Linked DNA regions of Homo sapiens: region 1 is linked to region 2. Evidence: promoter capture Hi-C in 16 types of primary human blood cells and fetal thymus (Javierre and others, 2016). All regions are on one chromosome and are shown on one strand. Each heading gives the region's core, a stretch centred on a gene start or on the middle of the fragment in contact. The rest is flanking DNA. Distances are from core to core; before and after follow the strand shown. Region 1 overlaps FAM227B (family with sequence similarity 227 member B). Region 2 holds the start of AP4E1 (adaptor related protein complex 4 subunit epsilon 1).

Region 1 (6,027 bases), core at 3,144-5,643, 1.3 Mb before region 2:
CTATACTGACATCTTTCTTCTGGCCCTTACTTGACATTCCTCAATGCAAAACAAATATGACCTTCACACTTGCAGATGCATGGATCCAAGGGAAGACTTAGCAAGTCCAATAACCCCAGGCGAAGTCAGTAATTTTGCATAACAATGGAAACTGAACTTTTAACATGAAAACACATTTTGAATTTTTCACTCTGATTCAATAATCAAGGAATATTGATGTAACACCTCTACAGATTACCTGTCTCAGGTGTGGTGCATAAATAAATGAGATAAGTAAGCATAACTGTTGGATATTCTTTAAGGTGTAAATACATAAGACAAAAATCTTACAATAACAAAAGTATATAGAAATGTCTGTATAGGGCTAGAATTTTTTTAATGTGAAAAAGAGAATAGAATGTTGACAAGAGGGAAGACTACAACATAGAGCCTACTCAAAGGACATAAGTATTTATATACACACTTTCCTCATTGAAACATATTTCTGAAATTTCTAGTCTTAAAGTTTATTCTAAGCCTTCTAAATCTCCATAACTGATATTTTAAAATGATGTAATGGCACATAAAATAAGATGCTTTACTCACCCAATTTTGAAACTTTAAGAATTCTTCAATGCTCTTTGGAGGTTCTTGCATTTTCTAATAAAGTAATATCAACATTGTTCATTGGCATAAACTCACTAGACTGTTCATAATATTTACAAATAATTTACTTAAATAAAATGATACTCTATTTATCATTTTCAGAGCGGTAAGATATCATAAAATGCTCACTTTATACCATCCCTCCACTTTGAAAAGGGACACACATAAATGTTTAAGTTCTTAGCCTCCAAACCAAATTTTGTAATAGGCTTCCCTCTTATACACTAGCCCTAGAGAAAAACTCCACATGAATCTTGCTTTAGGTCCTCATTTCAGATTCCTAAAAGAGTTCCAAGATATTTTGGGCTATCATGGATAGCCTCTATAATAAATCCAGAGCCAAAAATATAATATGTTCTTGCTGATAAAGTATTTTAAAAAGTTAACTAGTTACATAGTTAAAATAAATTTAAATGTTTGGATATTTCAGTCTAATAGATAAAAATCACATTTTTTAGTAGTTTCTTTGTGATTTCAAAATGTATTCAACATTACACAAACTAATTTTAATCCAGACCACAACTTTCTCCTTTTCGCCTTAGAGACTTTGCCTACATTCTTCCTTCTGCCCAGAAGTCTCCCTTTCCCAAACCCTCTTTCAATCCTTTCTTGGCCTATTTAACTCTTACTTCAAATAACAAATTAAAAGTCACTTTGTCCATCAAGCCTTTCTTATCCCCCAAAGTTTTCTCCGTGGTAACATACAGCAGATTATCTCTATGAGGATAGAAACTATGGTGCAATCATGGCTGAATTTTCTTTTTTTTTTTTTTTAATTTGGTATGTTTATTTTGTAGCCGGCCAATTCCTTGGAGAGGCTATTTTTTTTTATTATACTTTAAGTTTTAGGGTACATGTGTACAACGTGCAGGTCTGTTACATATGTATACATGTGCCATGTTGGTGTGCTGCACCCATTAACTCGTCATTTAACATTAGGTATATCTCCTAATGCTATCCCTCCCACCTGTCCCCACCCCACAACAGGCCCCAGTGTGTGATGTTCCCCTTCCTGTGTCCATGTGTTCTCATTGTTCAATTCCCACCTATGAGTGAGAACATGCGGTGTTTGTTTTTTGTCCTTGCGATAGTTTGCTGAGAATGATGGTTTCTACCTTCATCCATGTCCCTACAAAGGACATGAACTCATCATTTTTTATGGCTGCATAGTATTCCATGGTGTATATGTGAATCATGGCTGAATTTTCTAAATTTCACACAGTGGCTGGTTCATAGTCAATGCATAATAAGTACTCGCAGTGTGCATAAATTAAAGCATAAATGAGTAGATGAATGTCAGAAATATATAGGTACTTGAAAAATAATAAAAATACTTCTAGAGAATGAAAATCCAGTGAGAAGGCAAAAATAAGAGGAATTCAGAAGTCTAATATCCTAATATCCATGATGATATCACTGAAAAGATTGTACTACATTTTTATTTATTAAAACACATATTTCATATCAATATATAAAGTGGTCAAGATTACAGAATCACAAGTTCATGTTTTAGAAAAAAATGCTAAAAAATAATTACATATTTGAATTGGGGGATATTTCATTCATCTAAATATATGATGAATATAAGAAAATATATAACTGATAATACAAGAAGAAGATAAAGAGTGTATGTGACAACCATTATAGAAAATGAGTATTTAGTGAGAGTCAAAAAATTAAACAATTGAACTCATGGAGATAGAGATAGAATGATGGTTGCCAGAGGCCGAGAAGGGTAGTGGGAAGTGAGGGGAAAGTGGGTATAGTCAATGGGTACAAAAATATAGGTTAGGGTCAAGCACAGTGGCTCATGCCTATAATACCAGCACACTTTGGGAGGCCAAGACAGGAGGACTGCTTGAGCCCAGGAGTTTGAGACCAGGTTGGGCAACACAGCAAGAGCCAATCTCCATAAAAAATTTTAAAAAAAGGTAAAACAAAACAAAACAAAACAGAGTGGCCAGGCATGGTGGCTCACGCCTGTAATCCCAGCACTTTGGGAGGCCAAGGCAGGTGGATTGCTTGAGGTCAACAGTACAAGAGACCAGCCTGGCCAACACGGTAAAACCCCAGTCTCTTATAAAAATACAAAAAAATTAGCCAGGTGTCCCAGCTACTCGAGAGGCTGAGGTGAGAGAATCGCTTGAACCCCAGAGGCGGAGGTTGCGGTGAGCCAAGATTGTGCCACTACACTCCAGCCTGGGTGACAGAGCGAGACTCTCTCTAAAAAACAAACGGACAAATAAAAACAGCTAGAGAGAATGAATAAGATCTAATATTCGATAGCACAACTGGCTAACTATAGTCAACAATAATTTACTGCACATTTTAAAATAAATAAAAGAGTATAATTGGAATGTCTACAACATAAATAAGTGATAAATGCTTGAAATGATGGATACCCCACTTACTCTGATATAATTATTATATATTGTATGTATCAAAAATTATCTCATGTATGCCATAAATATATATATACTTATGATGTACCCTTAAAAATTAAAAATAAAAATTTGAAAAAGGAAAGCAAATGTTTAGACAGAAGCAAAGATGCATAGAGATGTGAAGAACATGTTATGGGAAACAGGGAACTCTAGAGCTAGTCAAATTGAAAAGAATGAGAGATATGAGAGATGGTGCATGCAAAAGGCTTACAGACAGAAAAATACTCACGATATAATATCTCTAGCTTCATGGGTATAGCAATTTGGCTAGAAGGAACTCACAATACATTTACAAATATACAGAATCAAACTTAATGAAAACAATTTAAGCATTGACTTTTTTTTCTTGTAATGGCTGTCAAACCACTCCAAGTACAAAGCACCAAAAATAATATGCACATTTAAATTAAAGGGAATTAGAAAAGTGAAGAAAGTGAAACTTGCATAGTGAAGTTCTAACTAATTTCAAAAATTCCATGTTTCTTTTGGGGTAAAATTAAAATAAGGTAAGGTATAAATTAAACAGATTTCTACTTTTGGTAGGATGTAGAAGGATATAAAACACCTACACTTCCATGATAATAATAAGACAAACTTGGACAAAAAAAAAATCATATTTTTCTATGGGGTTAGTGAAAAGTGGTGAATGCCAGGAGGCAGGACCAGTTAAATAACTTGTAAACATTCAGAGTTCCTTGTTCAAAATTATTGAGTTTGAAGATAATAACATCAGAGCATTAAACCAAATGCATGTACTTCTCAGCATAAGGCCCTGTGCAACTGCAGAAGTTGTAAACCCATGAAGCTAAAAACAAGCCTAACTGTCCCATAGAACTAATGTTTATGGTTTCTTTAAATAAATATAGAAATTAATCCTTCTAGTCTTAAAACTTGAGAAAGTTACATTGGTCTTATCTGAGTTCCTTTCCCAGAAAACTAACCATCAGGCCTCCCAGATAGTGTCAAGGAACTAAAACATACCAAATCACTATATCTTGACAATTAGCCTCTAGACTCCTCACCATCACCCATCATGATTGCCTAACTGACTACCTGTTTCCTGTTAACCAACTCCTCCTTCTTACCACCACTCCCTAATTTCTGTTTTCCCACACATGGTTACATTTCTTCCTTGCTATATAAAACCCTAATTTTAGTCAGTCAGGGAGATGGATTTGAGACTGATCTCCCATCTCCTCGGCTGCAGCACCCTATTAAAGCTTTCTTCCTTGGCAATACTCATCTCAGTGATTGGCCATCTGTGCAGCGAGCATTAAGACCTAGACCAAACCCTTGGTGTTTCAGTGACAAAGCCAGCTCTACCTGGGAGCCCTGATTACCTGAAATTCCAAGAGAAATATAACCTTTGTAAGTGAACATAAAGCTGTGGAAGCTTCCTTACCCCGGGGCCAGCTCTGCTGCTCCTCCTTTGACATGTTCGTTGGCCTGCCATGGTACAGTAACTTTGCAGAAATGAAGAGAAATCAGCTGGGTCTTAGGCTTCAATGTGAGTTGGGCGACCAAACTGGGGTATGAAAGACACCCAAATGCAAAAATAAATGACTCAGCCAAACAATCCCTTTCCCCTCACCCACAAACCTCACTTCTGACTTTTACCAAGTCAGATAGTTTGGCTCTGTATCTCCACTCAAATCTCATGTTGAACTGTTGGAATCCCCAGTGTTGGAGGTGGGGCCTGGTGGGAGGTGATTGGATCATGGGGGTGGTTTCTAATGATTTTGCAACATCCCCCTAGTGCTGTTTTGTGATAGACTTCTCATGAGATCTGGTTGTTTAAAAGTGTGTAGCACCTCCCCCTTCACCCTTTTCCTCCTGCTCCAGCCATGTAGGACGCATCTGCTTCCCCTTCACCTTCTGCCATGATTGTAAGTTTCCTGAGGCCTCCCCAGCCATGCTTCCTGTACAGCCTGTGGAACTGTGAGTCAATTAAACTTCTTTTCTTTAAAATTACCCAGTCTCTGGTAGTTCTTTATAGCAATGTGAGAACGGACTAACGCAGCAGGGGAGGAAGGGCTGGAAAATATATTCTGCTCATGAAGCTGGAGGTTCTACTACGTCACATGACAAACGACATGCATATAACAAGAAATGGACAAGGGAAGGCTAATAATATAAGCTATTATAATGTTTATAAGAAAGATTGGCCTGAATTTTTCTATCTTATAATGTGAAGATTTGGAATTAAGGCTATTATGGTCTCAAAAAAAATGAGTTGGGAAATGCCTCTATTTTTTTCTATTATCTGAAAGAATTTAAAATCTGAAAGATCAGTACTATTTCTTCCTTTCTTCCTTAAATGTTTGGTGGACACTGCTAGTTATGTTCCCTGAACCTGAACCTGAAATTATGGGGGAGTTTTAAATTAAGGATACTGTTATGGACCTAATCATGCCCCCACCCCAAATTCATATGTTCAAGCCCTAACACTTATAACAAGATGTGACTTTATTTGCAGATGGAGCCTTTGAGGAGACAATTAAGGTTAAAAGAGACTAAAAGAGTGGGGCTCTAATATGATTGGTGTCATTATGAGAACAGACACCAGAGAGCTTGCTTGCTTATACTCTCTCTCCATATACACACAGATATTTTATCTGTGAAAATATCTAGAACTATGAAATAATAAACTTTGTGTTGTTTTAAGCCACTTTGCTTGTTGGCTGTTTGTTACAGCAGCAATAAGAAACTAATATGAGGAGAAAGAGTGATTTTTTTTTTTAGCATTTTGCAGATGTGAAAAATGCCACACACTTAACTGATGCTCTGTCTATATAAGAGAAGAGGCTTTGTAAGGACATGGTGAGAAGGCAGTGGTCTACAAGCCAGGAAGAGAGGCCTCACTAGAAACTCACACTGATGGCACCTTGGTCTTGGACTTCTGGCCTTTAAAACTGTGAGAAAATAAACTACTGTTGTT
Region 2 (6,437 bases), core at 229-2,728:
TGGTTTTCTGTCGCCATGTGCGCTGTGGTTGTATATGCTAGTACATACACTGCATGTCTTATTAGTATCTTAAATCTTCACCCAGGAGTGGTGTTTTTTTTTTTTTTTTTTTTTTACTATTATAATGAGTATAATTCAGCCCAACGACACTGATCATGGGTTTCTGCGCTTGTGAGAGTTTGGGGATTTTCCCTTCTGCTCTCGTACCTCTTTGCTGCAAAATTTTCTAACCAGGAGCCTCGGATGTGGTTTGTACACTATGGGCTGGTTTGTTCTATTTATTTAGCAAGTTTGTTCCCCTTGAAGGGAGGCTATCACCACCTACCTAACCTACCTCCTAGAAACACACTAGGAGTACTGAGAGCAAATTGCATTAATCTCTGAAAACGCACGTATTTATGCCCTAAACCTACTACCTTAGAAAATTCTAGAAAACACAAGGATACTCCAGGATACATTTTACCAGCTAGTCAATCGTCATCTAGCCGCTTGAAAACTCTGTACATTTCCAACAGAATGAGGGTAAAAACGGCAAATAACACGTAAGAAACGTTATCAATGTTGTTTTGACTTTGTGAATTCCCTAGAAGGGTCTCAGCGACCCTGAGGTCACCAGACCACATTTCGAGAGCCATTGTACCAGACTCTGTTCTAGATAAAAGACGGAGCAATCGGAATGAATAAAATACTCTCTCTATGGGGAGCTGTTTACGTAGTGGCAACTGCGACCTGTTCTAAAGTGGAACAGAACCGAGCGCTGTGAGAGGGTGGGACTTGGAGACCTATCCTTGCCCGCCGGGCCAGGGGAGTGGGCTCTAGAAGGATGACCTTTCAACTGCGACCTGCTGAGGAGGAGTCGGCAAGGGTGGCCGCCGACCAGTTCTCTTTCCCGCCCACCTCCCCAAATCCCAGGAGAAGAGGGGCGGACGGGAAGCGACAGTGGCCGCGAGTCCCCGGCACGCGACGGGCTCTCAACCTGGCACGCCGAATCCTCAGGACAGCCCCGCTATCACGCAACTACTCGGGTGTCCCAAGAGTCGCCAGGGCCGGAGCCGCGCGCGGCGCCGGGGACCCGCGTGAAACCGCCTGTGGGAAGCGGGCGGGTGGCGCGCGCTCCGGGGACAGTGAGAGGCGGCGGACGGCGCGGGGACGTCCCGAAAAAGGCGCAGCCAGGAAGACGCAACTCCTGACGCGGTCTCGGGCTACGCGGAGGCGGCTAGTGGGAAAGGGGGACTCTGGGAGACAGTGCCTAACAGGGCCAGGCCCCCGACGGCTTCCTCAGGAGGACTCACGGTTCTGGGGGATTCCGGAACCGCTACCCCGTCGCGAGAAAGGAGGTCTACTTACGCGCGCAATCTCGAGCGAGCGGCCTTTTCCACCCCCGCGGTCTCTTGCGCCCTCTGGTGGCCTCTCGCGAGAACGACGCTGAACTTGTTCAGGTGGGACGCCAATAAAGATTTCTTATTCAAAAAACAGGAAGTGCCTACGGAGGCCGGGCCGGCAGCGGCGGCCGGGCATGAAGCCGGGCGGCTACGGGATCGCGGGCGGCGGCGGCATCGCGGGCGGCGGCGGCGATGAGCGACATAGTGGAGAAGACGCTGACGGCGCTGCCGGGACTCTTTCTGCAGAACCAGCCCGGTGGTGGGCCCGCGGCCGCCAAGGCGTCCTTCTCCTCGAGGCTGGGCAGCCTTGTCCGCGGCATCACAGCCCTCACCTCCAAGCACGTAGGTGCCCGCCGGCCCGGGAGCTCAGGGACATCGGAGTGAGGCCCCCGCGCCAGGAGGCCCTGGCCGGGCGGCGAGACTTCAGGGCCTCTGGGGTTAGCCCTCCGGCGGGGCTCAGGGGCTGCTGTGTCGGTTCGTCCTTTCGTCTGCCTGGAAGCTTCACTTTCCTGCTGGGACTGACAGCAGGGAAGCCGAGTTTCCACAGTTAGTTCTGACACTGACTCTTTGATCGGGGGCACATCTCTGTAACCTCTGAGCCTCCGTGTGTTTTCTCAACGTTGTGGTGGAAAAGTACTGATACATAATTCATAGGTTTTTTGTTTGTTTTGAGGATTGGGTGAGATGTCAAGCGTGTGAAAATACCTAGTGCGATGGAAGTGTCAGACATTATTTACCTTCCACAAAGTTTTTTTTCCCTACTCAGTTTCCTTCTCTCCCCCGGTGCCTTCAACTGAACAACAGTTCAGATGTCGCATACCTGAAGAGATCCTGTGAGCCTCTTGTTGAATATCTTTGGGGAGCTTGAGGTTCTTGGGTTACAACAACGTGTTGGGCAAAGAAAAAGCACAGTTCTCTCAAAATGTAAAATTTGCTAAGTCTCTGCCTCAAGTGGGCTTTGAAAATGAGCAGTTATAAAAATTCTTAAACTTTTAAAATTTTTAAATTTTTATTGACGGAGTCTCTCTCTGTCGCCCAGGCTGGAGTGCAATGGTGCGATCTCGATCTCGGCTCGCTGGAGCCTTAAGGTTTTAAAAATTTTAATTTTTGTTTTTTTTTGAGACGGAGTCTCGCTCTGTCGCGCAGGCTGGAGTGCAGTGGCGCGATCTGGGCTCACTACAAGCTCCGCCTTCCGGGTTCACGCCATTCTCCTGCCTCAGCTTCCCGAGTAGCTGGGACTACAAGTGCCCGCCACTGCCTGGCTAATTTTTTGTACTTTTCGTAGAGACGGGGTTTCACCGTGTTAGCGAGGATGGTCTCGATCTCCTGACCTCGCGATCCGCCCGCCTTGGCGTCCCAAAGTGTTGGGATTACGTGCGTGAGCTACCCTGCCCGGCCTTAAAATTTTTAAATTTTTAATGACGGAGTCTCGCTCTGTCGCCCAGGCTGGAGTGCGATGGTGCGATCTTGGCTCACTGGAGCGTCTGCCTCCCGGGTTCAAGCGATTCTCCTGCCTCAGCCTCCCAAGTAGCTGGGATTATAGGCGTATGCCACTACGCCCGGCTAATTTTTGTATTTTTAGTAGAGACAGGATTTCACCATGTTGGGCAGGCTGGTCTTGAACTGACCTCAAGTGTTCGCTCACTTCGGCCTCCCAAAGTGCTGGGATTACAGGCATGAGCCACCGCGCCGGGCCCCCACAGGCGCTCGATGGTTGCACGGATTGTGTAGTATACCGATTCACAGCTACAAGGAGTTTATATCTTAAAAAGAGCACGTGTTAATGTCATTATTTGTTCAACAGATGTTTATGGAACAAGGTTATGTGTTAGACACAGGAAAATAGAATTAAACACATTCCCTTTTCCCAAGGAATTAGTCATTCGTTTTGGGCTTAAGACAAGTATAAGCATGACTACAATGCAATAGAAGTGCTAAAAGAGAAGGAAAGACAGAAAAGAAAGTGCTCTGAAGGTTTAAAAAAAATATTTTTTTGGCAGCTCTAATAAGTTGATGCTATCCGGAGAGAACCTGCTTCACATTCCAGAATCATTACTTGTGGGCTTGTCTTGTTTTGTTTTGTTTTTGAGATGGAGTCTCACTCTGTCGCCCAGGCTGGAATGCAGTGGTGCAATCTTGGCTCACTGCAACTTCTGCTTCCTGGGTTCAAGTGATTCTTCTGCCTCAGCCTCCCTGGTAGCTGGGATTACAGGCACACGTCACCATACCCGGCTAATTTTTATATTTTTAGTAGAGACAGGGTTTCGCCATGTTGGCCAGGCTGGTCTTGAACTCCTGACCTCAGGTAATCCACCTGCCTTGGCCTTGGCCTCCCAAAGTGCTGGGATTACAGGCGTGAGCCACCACGCCTGGCCATTTGTGGCCTTAATAATGTTGTTTTTCTTAAGGTTTTTGTCCTTTGCTAATTTTTAAGGGATCCTCAATAAAATTTTTTAAAAAGTTATTTTTGGTCTTAAATAGCAGTTTGAAACTGTAGATAGGCATCCACGTGTATCAGTACGTCACTAGTGGCTTTTGAATAGCCATCTGATGAACATGTAATTCAGTGTGTAATTTAAAGGTAGCATGATATTAGCCAAAAAAAAATGGGGCCAATTTTTTAAGTGCTTAGGGAGATAACATACAATGCAGACAGTAGGAGTGACCACATTGGTATGTGTCTGAGATAGGAAGTTATGGAAAGGATTTGGGGAATGAGGAAAAGACAGGGAAGAAGAATGTAGTTTAAGGGAAAAAGACCTATTTCTGTTTCTGCTTTCTTACCCTGTTTCTTAATTCCATGAAGACTTTTTACTTCTAAGGGGAAGATGTGAGATGAGACTCTTTTCTTGGGCCAATACATGGAGAATTTCTACTCTCTCTCCACCTTTAATTTTTTTTTTTTTTTTTTTTTTAGATGGAGTCTTGCTCTGTTACCCAGGCTGGAGTGCAGTGGTACGATCTCGGCTCACTGCAACATTCACTTCCCGGGTTCAAGCGATTCTCCTGCCCCTGCCTCAGCCTCTCGAGTATCTGGGATTACAGGACCCCCAGCTAATGTTTGTATTTTTAGTAGGGACGGGGTTTTGCCATGTTGGCCAGGCTGGTCTCAAACTGCTGACCTCAAGTGATTCACTCGCCTTGGCCTCCCAAAGTGCTGGGATTACAGGCATGAGCTGTTGTGCCCGGCTTCCACCTTTAGTTTTAAAAAAAAACATTTTCTGCTATTCTACCATTAAGGGGAAGTAACTGAGTAAAGAAAAGAGGAAGGATGGGTTAGCCTGGAAATATTTATTCTCTCCAGGGATGGTTCTGAGGTTTGGAGAAATGCCTTTAGATAGATCGTAAGCAGATAGTATTTGTAACTCTCCTTTAAAATAATGTTTCTTTTAAATTAAAAGTATTGTAAATTATATTTTTCCGTTTAGATAAATGCTGTTACAGTTTTAAAAGACAGTTAATCAAGCATTTAAATATTTTCACTTTCTCAGGAAGAAGAAAAATTAATCCAGCAGGAACTGAGTAGTCTGAAAGCGACTGTTTCTGCTCCTACTACAACACTGGTAGGTTTGCATAGTCAGTGCCAACACATTTGAATTTGAAATCTAGTCACTGTGGACTCAATAGTGGCATCTAACTGATGATCGGTTGCTAAAATTTGATTTATCATAGTCAAAATGAATTATAGTTGGTAGCAACTCAGATGTTAACTTTAGCCTTTTATTGTTGACTGGTTTGCACCAGAACAAGATTTGCCTATGTGAAGTCAGGGCTAATGTGATGATGATTACATAAATGTGGAGATACTCTTGGGACCCTAGTGCTGATCTGATGTTTTTAATGTTATGCATTTGGAAAAGGTTGGGATTTCAACATGATATTTTCAGACCTGAATTAATATATTGTAGGTATATCTAATTTTATTATTTAAGACCTAGTTGTTTTTAAAGTTTGTTCTACATAATCTGATTTTTCAAACAATATTCAGCAACTATTTAATGAATGGTCATTCATTATTATGCAGGCCACTGTGGGGCTGTCCCAGCATAGCTAGATTAAAACTCAGTTTGATTTTTTTTTTTTTTTTTTGAGACGGAGTCTCGCTCTGTTGCCCAAGCTGGAGTGCAGTGGCGTGGCGTGATCTCAGCTCACTGCAACCTCTGCCTCCTGGATTCAACCGATTCTCCTGCCTCAGCCTCCTGAGTAACTGGGACTACAGGTGCCCGCCACCATGCCTGGCTAATTTTTGTATTTTTAGTAGAGTTGGGGTTTTCATCATGTTGACCAGGCTAGTATCGCACTCCTGACCTCAAGCGATCCACCCACCTCAGCCTCCTAAATCAAAGTACTAGGATTACAGGTGTGAGCCACCGTGCCTGGCCTGATTTTTTTTTAAATGAGATTTTGTTTCAAGCAACATATCTTCAGCAAATATTTGGTGAGTGTCTTCAGTATATAAGCCACTGTGGGAATGTTTTCCCTCCCTGCCAGTAAAAATATCAGGACGATCATTTTGCATAAGCACATGATTGTGAATTTGAATAACACTTGTAAAGTCTGAGAGAATGAATATATTTTCTTCTGTGGTCATAATAATAGTATGTGGCAAATAAAACTGAAAACATAATCTGATATATCCATGTGTATATATGTATATGTATGTTTGTGTGTATACATGTATGTGTGTCTGTGGCTATGGATAAAATAATTATGCTTCATAGTACTAGATAGAAACGTTAAACAGAAATGGTTTTTGTTTGTTAGATTTCCATTTTTTATGATTGGCATCAGTATATAATTTTCCTTGTTCCAAGGCAGAAACCTGAAGTTGGGCAGAACTAAGATAAATAGGTAGAAATTAGGAAGGCAGAGTTTGAAAGGAAGGTTTTATAACACTATGGCCATCCAACTCTGTGTATATCTTACAGAGTAGTCTGTCCCAGAGCTGTTCATGTAAAGGTTGGCTGTCAGAGAAATTGTAAAGAGAATTCTTGCATTGGGGAATGCACTTTCATCTCTAAAAATAAATGCATGAGATGTAATCTCACTTAGATA

Evidence for each region. Contacts are between HindIII fragments. The CHiCAGO score rates a contact against its expected background, and 5 or more counts as called.
Region 1: a fragment that was not itself captured here is called in contact with the fragment with the promoter of AP4E1 in region 2 in 1 of 17 cell types (total CD4 T cells); the score reaches 6.2 in total CD4 T cells.

The regions. Positions count from the first base shown.
Region 1 is chr15:49,610,630-49,616,656 of GRCh38, forward strand. FAM227B (family with sequence similarity 227 member B) reads right to left here. Exons shown (of 16, transcript NM_152647.3): 2 at 4,492-4,614; 3 at 586-639. The coding sequence starts at 4,542. Among named protein-coding and RNA genes, the nearest start is that of FAM227B, 7.2 kb to the right of the region's middle. The HindIII fragment of the contact is 173 bases long and covers 4,308-4,480 here.
Region 2 is chr15:50,907,205-50,913,641 of GRCh38, forward strand. AP4E1 (adaptor related protein complex 4 subunit epsilon 1) reads left to right here and starts at 1,479. Exons shown (of 21, transcript NM_007347.5): 1 at 1,479-1,724; 2 at 4,874-4,945. The coding sequence starts at 1,575. RefSeq lists enhancers at 1,072-1,813, 1,288-1,577, 1,598-1,767, 1,814-2,555. The HindIII fragment of the contact is 3,809 bases long and covers 1-1,879 here.